Linked DNA regions of Homo sapiens: region 1 is linked to region 2. Evidence: promoter capture Hi-C in 16 types of primary human blood cells and fetal thymus (Javierre and others, 2016). All regions are on one chromosome and are shown on one strand. The core of a region is centred on a gene start or on the middle of the fragment in contact, and the rest is flanking DNA. Distances in the headings are between cores, read along the strand shown.

Region 1 (4,135 bases), core at 677-3,176, 130 kb before region 2:
TGGCCCCCGCAATTGTTGGTCAGTTTGCTCAGTGTAACTTTTGCCTTCCAATTTTTATAGTTAGAGTGCCTTCTCCAATCTGGCAAAAACTGTTTTGGAGCTCTTTACTGTTGAGGGACCAGCGGGGGCTCCCTTTGTTCACCCAACTTTCGATAGTGTTGTATTAAGACCTTTGTGAATAACCCCCCATTATTCATTCCATTGCTTAACAACCATGTACAGATTCCACCCCGCTAGGATGCACCCCATGACTCTCTCCTTTCCTTTTTCCTCTTGGTTTCACCCCATCCACTTTTTACCTTTTTTTTGAGATGGAGTCTTACTCTGCCACCCAGGCTGGAGTGCAGTGGCAGTCTTGACTCACTGCAATTCTCCTCCCTCAGTCTCCTGAGTAGCTGGGATTACAGGTGCGCGCCACCACACCTGGCTAATTTTTGTATTTTTAGTAGAGATGAGGTTTCGCCATGTTGGCCAGGCCAGTCTCGAACTCCTGATCTCAGGTGGTCTGCCCACCTCTGCCCCTCAAAGTGCTGAGATTACAGGCGTGAGCCACCAGGCCTGGCCCATTTTTTACCTATTTAAAACTAATCGTTTAAAAATTTTCCCCTTCCTAGGATGAGTCCTTGGACTCCCTTTTGCCTTTCCCAATAATTTTATTAATTAGCCTAAAGTTTTTATAAGCATCTGGATGACCCATGAGGGGAAGTTGAGACCCAATGAGGTGCCCAGGCCAATGGGCCCCCTTAACCACAGCATTTACCATGATCTGGGCATACTCAGCCGTGAATATCCCGGTCATCATAAAGTCAGTCCCACATGGCTTGCTTACGAAGCACATCAGCTGCTTCATCGGGGGTGCTCCACTTGGCGTTTATGGGGAAAGTTGGGTGGTCCCCTTCTCTTACAGTGCCTTTTATCCAGCCCACCAGGCTGGCCGTTCCCTCAGGAATAATCTGTGCGTCTGGATCACACACACTCATCTGCCATTGTTCAGCAGTGAGCTGTGGGTCTCACATCAGCCCACACGTGCTCTTCCATTCTGCTGCACTTGTGACCAGCAGAAGGGTGAGGCTGCTCACCACTTGTAGAAAGAAGCCAAAATAATAATGAGGTGTGATAGAAAGAGAGTGAGACTTTATTATCCGTACCAGCAAAGGGATGAGCACAAAGCAATTCCACTCTTCCATTTGTGGAGGGAACGCAGGGGATTTTAAAGAGAGGGTTTGGAATGCAGAAGAGGCAGGTGATGAGGAGGTGTCGGGTGGCAGGAACCAGTCCCATGGCTCATCTCGAATTATTGTTCCATCTGGTGAAGGGGCCAGGGCCATCGTGGCTGGAAGTGTCTGGTCCATAGCAGGATCCGGCCCCTGAAACTTCTAAGGAAATACATCACCAGAGAAGTGAGCATGGTGTGAGCTTAACAAGCATCCAGGTAAATAAGTGTGTGTAAGGTGTGACAGCATGGAATAGAAAAAGAAGGGGAGGGGAGGCCACAGCACATTCCCAGGCTATGTTTCAAGATGAAAGGAAACCCGTATGCAGCTTGACTCAAAGTTATATCTTGAGATTGGGAAGAAAGGAGAAAAAACAAAGTTTTAAAACATGGTTTGAAGCCAAGCTGCTCAGTTACACATTTAAAACCAAAAACACTGTTCCCAAATTAGTCATTCTCATAATTTATTTTGGTAGAAGTTCCTCAGGAAGCGAATCTACAAAACGAAGCAATTGCCCCACATCACGTCCTCTGGCTTCAGTGCTACTTGATTTTGCCCTTACTACCATCTTGGTAACCACAGGTCTCAGGGTGCTTTCTTTCATCCCTGGCATCATTTCCCCTTTGTGGGTAGTTTTGAGGCTAATGGCCTGAGCTCAGACAGACCCACAACTGAGCATGGTCCAGGCCCAACCCAGCACTCTCTTACACTTTCATTTTAGCTACTGCAGATAGCAGTAACCAAGGGATTGAATGTTTTGCTTTTTGCTTATTAGTCTGCATCTTCTTATGCATCCACTGAACCAACTCCCCAAGGGTTTGTGCCATCTCTAATTCTACCAGTAGCTTTCCCCTTTAGCAGCTGAGGATGGCACAGCTGCAGCTCCAGACCAGGGATGACGTGTGGCCGCTAAGGAATCAAGGGCTTCTTGTTGCCCAGCCCTTTATTCTTCCTCTTTCTATCCATTTACTCTCATCCATGTCATCTTTCCTTGATTCCAAAACAACCTGTAAATAGCTTCCAAACTAGACAAGAGTACTTTTCCTTTAAGCAGAAACCATATCTTTATGATTTTTATAACCTTTGCTAAAAACACATCTTACATTATGGCCGGGCGCAGTGGCTCACGCCTACAATCCCAGCACTTTGGGAGGCGAGACGGGCACATAACTCAAGGTCAAGAGTTTGAGACCAGCCTGGCCAACGTGGTGAAACCCATCTCTACTAAAATATAAAAATTAGCCGGGTGTGGTGGCGGGCGACTGTAATCCCAGCTACTCAGGAGGCTGAGGCAGGAGAATCACTTGAACCCGGGAGACAGAGGTTGCAGTGAGCCAAGATCGTGCCATTGCACTCCAGCCTGGGGGAGAGAACGAGACTCAGTCTCAAAAAAAAAAAAGAAAAGGAAAAAAGAAAAACCCACATCTTACTTTTCATACACTCTGTATGTAGAATAGTTTTGCCTATATCTAGCAGTTTTAATTACATATATAAACTATTACTGTAACTTAGTAACCCCTTATTTCTAGAAAATCCTAGTCTTAATTTAGCATGACTTTTAGATTTTATAAAGAGAATTTTGAAACTAGTTTTACTTACCAAAGATTACCAAAGTCACATGAACTAAAAGGCATTTGAGCTAGCTTCTATTATCCTGATAAGATATTTAAGTGTTTAAATTTCCTTTAAGCCCATTAGAGTTCTTTCATACAATCTGGTAGTGACCGGTCACATACGCATGACCCATGTAAACATATATGAGATAGAATAGGAGCGGGACGTGGCTCCTCCTTCACGATCTCACCATGCCTTCTACCTAACCCTGTTCCCATTGAGAAAAAAGAAGGTGCCAGCGCTCATTTAATTTTACATAAACACGCTCTTTGAGGGTGAAGCAAATCTGACTGCTTTTCAATGTGAAAATAAAATATAAAAACTGTTGTTGGAGTTATTTCTAAACAGAACATCAGAGTCATCTGAAGCATCAGAATCATCTATTTCTGAAAAATCAGATTCATCAAATGATCTTCAGCCAACAACTGTTCGAAAACGGTGCTCATGTCACAGAAACGCTACATTTTCTAAGATTTGACATTTTCAGTGGTTGCTAATTACTATATGTTGTAACTGGAAATGCCACTACTGCAAACAGAATGTATAAATAGAATAATGTCTTTTGTTGCCAAAGTCAATCTACTAGAGCAATGCAAAAATAGTTATAAAAGTGAGATATTTCGTGGCAAAGTTTTCTCGAAGTAAATGCTGCAGCCACAAGTGCCACCGGCAAGTATTCTTGGGGCAAACAGGAAATGGGTTAAAGAAGTTCAGGATCCGGCCTTAGGAAATCCAAATATCACACCGAGGTTGCGGTCTGATCTCATTTATTCAGCCTGAATAGATTTCTTTAGCATTTCTCATAGCGCGTATGTGCTGATAATAAATTCTTGTGGTTTTATTTTATTTAAAAATGTATTTACTGCCGGGCTCAGTGGCTCACACCTGTAATCCCAGCACTTTGGGAGGCCAAGGCAGGTGGATCACCTGAGGTCAGAAGTTCAAGACCAGCCTGGCCAACATGGTGAAACCTCGTTTCTACTAAAAATACAAAAATTAGCCGAGTGTGGTGGCGGGTGCCTGTAATCCCAGCTACTCTGGAGGCTGAGGCAGGAGAATCGCTAGAACCATTAGGAGGCGGAGCTTGCAGGGAGCCGAGATCTCACCACTGCACTCCAGCCTGGGTGACAGAGCGAGACTCCGTCTCAAACAAACAAACAAACAATAGTATTTACTTCACCTTCCTTCTTGAATAATATTTTCACTGGATATAGAATACTGGGTAGATCCTTATTTTTCCTTCAGCACTTTAGAGACATTGTTCCACTGTCTTCTGGCCCCATTCATTTCTTTCTTTTTTTTCTTTT
Region 2 (3,973 bases), core at 230-2,729:
GGGGCAGAATGCTGCAGATATCCTAAGGAGATGTGCCAGAGCCAGCCCAATGCCCATCCTTCCCTTGGCTACAGGCGGCACTTGTGACTTGAATCTGAGTAGAACTGGGCCGAGGGGGTGGCATGTCACCCACAATTAGGTTCTGTTCCACAGGACTCCATCTGGGGGTGGGGCTCTCCCACGGACCCTGGGGAAGCGGCCACCCTGTGAACCGCCCACCCTCCCACAGTAGGGACTGGCAGGCAGCCCCCGGGAGCTGAGAGCAGCTCCTGCCGGCCCTCAGTCCTACAGGCACCAGGACATGACTTCTGCCAGCAATCGCATGAGGTGGGAAGTGATCCTTCCCCAGTCCAGCCCCCAGATGAGAACACAGCGGCTGACCAGAGCTGAGGACCCAGCTAAGCCTGGCCTTCTGGCCCACAGAAGCCTTGAGATAATAGGCGGATGTCGTTTTAGGACACCCAATTTGCGGTACGTAGGGAACTAACACGCGGGGCTCTGGCGGGCCTGGCGGCTCAGTGCGATCTGGGCAGGCAGGAAGTGGAGTGAGCACAGCCAGCGGCTGGGAGCACATCCCGGAGGGGCTGCCTGCGGCGGGAGGAGCGGCAGGGGCCACGTGGTGGGGGACGGCTCGCCAGGGCGCGCACGCGGTGGCGGCGGCGGTGGAGGCGTTGCCCGCCTAGCTAGGGGCCCGCGGCCTGGAGAGGCGTCGGTTCTCCTTCCGCGCTGAAGGCGGAGACAGCGACTTCCCGTGGAGGCAAGCCGTGGGCGCCGCGGAGGCGGGGGCTGGGGGTCGGCGGAGGCGGGAGCTGGGGGTCGGCGGGGGCTGGGGGTTGGCGGGGAGCGTCCTCAGGGACAAGTCTCCCAGCACGCGGCCGCGACCTCCCCGTTGGGGGTCTGGAGCCAGGAGCCCACGCGCGTCGGATCCGGAGAGTCTGGTGGGCGCAGCCTACGTGACAGGGTCGGCTCGGGACCGAGCTGCTGGGGACTGGGCCTTGCGGGGCGGGGCCGCTGGGGGCGGGGCATGAGGGTGCCGGTTCGGGGCGGGGCTTTTTGGGGGCGGGACATGGGGCGGAGCCTGGGGGCGGAGCATGTGGGGAGGTGGCTGGGGAGGAACTTTCGGGGGCGGGACACGAGGGCGGAGCCTGAGGGGGCGGGGCATGAGGGGAAGCCGGCTCGGGAAGGAGCTTTCGGAGGCGGGGCCCGCTCGGGGAGGGACCTGATTTCGGGGGAGCCTTCGGGAGGGCGCCTGCCATAGACGACTGTAAAGGGGCGGGGTCAGCTCGGGGAGGACCCTGCGGGCGTGGCGGCAGTTATGGGTGAAGCCTGAGGGGGCGGGGCCTGATCGGGGCGGGGTCTTCGGGGGCGGAGTCGGCTGGGGATGGAGCCGCTCGGGCCGAGCCCTCCACCGCCCACCATCACCGAGTCCGGCCCAGGCTCCTAGCGCGGCCGCCGGAAGGGGCGGGTCAGCGGGCGGGCATTTCCTGCCGGTGCCTAGGGCCGACGGGGACGCTGGCACTGGTGGGGAGCTGTTGGGGGGTCCCGCATCTAGGGCTCTCCTTTCCTGCCTCCGGCCCCCGCGAGGGGCGCGCGCCTCTCCCCGCCCTCCAGCAGTCCTGGTAGGGCCCGGGCGCGTCCGCGCTCTGCAGCGGGAGGTCCTCGTCGCCTCTCGTCTCCAGCCAGGTACTCACTGGGCTCCTGCCTGCCGCCTCCGGCCCAGGACGCGCAGCGTCGGTATGGGCCCCGCCGCCTCCCCGCACCCCGGCGCTCCAGGGATGTGGCAAGACCCGGCTTTGAGCACCTCCCGGGCGCCGGCCCCGAGGCCGACCTAGCTCTGCACGTGGGCCGCGGGGCTCTGCCGTTGAAAGGAGAGCCTCTAACTAGGAGCACGCACGGGACCCTGGCGGGCCCCTCCGCCTGGCTCAGATGCCTGGCATCTCAGGCCTTGGCACAGCTAGCAGGCCCCTGGCAGGCCGTGGACCCAGCAGGCTGTTTTAGTGCAGATTGCCCCTGAATCTCAAGCCCACTAATGTTCCAGTCTCTCCATGAGACCCAGATCCCTGAAAGTAGTGGAGGGAGGCGCCAGGGTGAGTGAGGTTTTCTAGGCAGCCCTTACCGCCCACGGATACCCAGAGCTTCATATTACAAGTGAAGGGTCCTCCGCCCAGAGAGGCGACGGAGCTACGCTGGAGTTGCACGACAGAACCAGAACCCCAGTCTTTAGGGGTGTGGCAAGCGTGGGTTGCGCTGTTTGTAACTAGCTAATCACTCCTGTCTACAGGCCTGTGAGGTGAGGCCAAGAAAATCGCTATGGTCCAATCCGTTTTTGTTTTTTGCGTGTGGGGTTTTTTGTTTTGGTTTGGTTTGGTTTTTTTGTTTGAGACGGAGTCTTGTTCTGTCGCCAGGCAGGAGTGCACTGGCGCGACCTTTGCTCACTGCAACTTCTATCTCCTGGGTTCAGGCAATTCCCCTCCCTCAGCCTCCTGAGTAGCTAGGACTACAGGCACGTGCCACCACGCCCAGCTAATTTTTTGTGTTTTGGTAGGGACAGGGTTTCACCATGTTGGCCAGGATGGTCTCGATCTCCTGACCTCGTGATCCGCCCACCTCGGCCTCCCAAAGTGCTGGGATTACAGGCATGAGCCACCGCGCCCGGCCAGTCCACTCTGCTTTTAAGAAATATTTTATTTCTCAGGGTGGGCAGCGTGTAGAGAAGTGAGTCATTCCAGTCTCTGCCGGTTAGCACCTGCCAGCCTAAGTTGAGTCGACAGAGCCGTTATGGAGAATGTTCCCTGACCACAGTATGTGACTAGGATTTGGAGATAAAAAAGATACGATCCTCGCCTTCAGGAGACCCTGTCGCATAAGGAGACTGCCATGTCAGTGACCAGCCACACGTGCAGTGACAAGTGTCTGGAAGAAGGAACAGTGCTGTACAGCATGGAGGACCCCCACACAGGCCTCGGGCAGCAGCCGTTAGGCTCAGTGGGTTCACAAACCACCCCCCGCCCCGCCGTGGAGTGGAGTCTGCAGAGAGCCAGATAGGTTCCCGCCATGCCCTGGAGAGCTGCCGTTTCTCCAGCTCCGCCCTGCCCATGAGGCAAACAGCTGGTCGACTGGTCTTCTGTGCTGGTTCTTGGTTCTCACCTTTGTTTCCTACCAGAGCTGGACCCCGGCCTCAAACTCCAGCCAGCTTGGGCTGTGATCCTCTATCCTGGGCACCAGGGCCCACCCCCTGCCCACCCCAGCAGAGATGCTGCTTTATGCCTGCATCCTCCCTCAGCACACGTGGCCTTCATCTTCAGTTCTGGCGCCCACCTGATCTGCCTCCTCCCACACGCCACCTCTAGATAGAGCCCTAGAAAGTGATGTTGGCCTGAAACTGAGTCACATTCATCTAAACATTTTCCTGTAGAAAAGACCAGACCCTCCTTGTTGAGATAGGAAATCTGTAGTGAGTTTATGTGTTACCTGCACTCATGAGGGAGAGGAGGGAAGGCCACCAACCTCCTCTCAACAAAGAGAATTCAAAGTATTTATGTGTTGAGTTGTGTCACTTACGACATGCATATCAGCTCCACTTTCTACCTAGGGTCAACCCTGGCCTCAAACTCCAGCCTGGTTGACCAAGAACTAATACAAAGGGTACGGAATATTATTTCTTAGAATATGACTGGGCATGGTGGCTCCCACCTGTAGTCCCAGCTACTCAGGAAGCTGAGGTGGGAAGGATGTGACATGAGGGGTTCTGCTGGCTGCTGTGGTCCATGGCAGGGGGGCAGCCCTGGTTTCATGAACTCAGAACCCAGCCTCTGGGGGATGGAAGCACTCTCCACTGGGCACGTGTGGTCCCTGCAGCCTGTAGCTTCAAAGCACGGTGACTGGTTCCAAGCCCAGTATGGTGGAGAAGGAGACTACGGCAGGAACCAGGGGGATTCGGGGGTGGAGGAGGGAAGCCGCAGGGCAGTTGGTG

What was found. The method cuts DNA at HindIII sites, captures the fragments that hold promoters and counts their contacts. A CHiCAGO score of 5 or more calls a contact.
Region 1: a contact is called between a fragment that was not itself captured here and the fragment with the promoter of ZFP41 in region 2, in 2 of 17 cell types (endothelial precursors and non-activated CD4 T cells). The highest score is 5.8, in endothelial precursors.

Annotation. Positions count from the first base shown.
Region 1 is chr8:143,111,076-143,115,210 of GRCh38, forward strand. No RefSeq gene overlaps it. Among named protein-coding and RNA genes, the nearest start is that of LY6L, 33 kb to the left of the region's middle. The HindIII fragment of the contact is 6,125 bases long and covers 1-4,135 here.
Region 2 is chr8:143,245,460-143,249,432 of GRCh38, forward strand. It overlaps ZFP41 (ZFP41 zinc finger protein), which reads left to right and starts at 1,480. Exons shown (of 3, transcript NM_173832.6): 1 at 1,480-1,683. RefSeq lists silencers at 575-734, 935-1,824, 1,865-1,914. The HindIII fragment of the contact is 20,601 bases long and covers 1-3,973 here.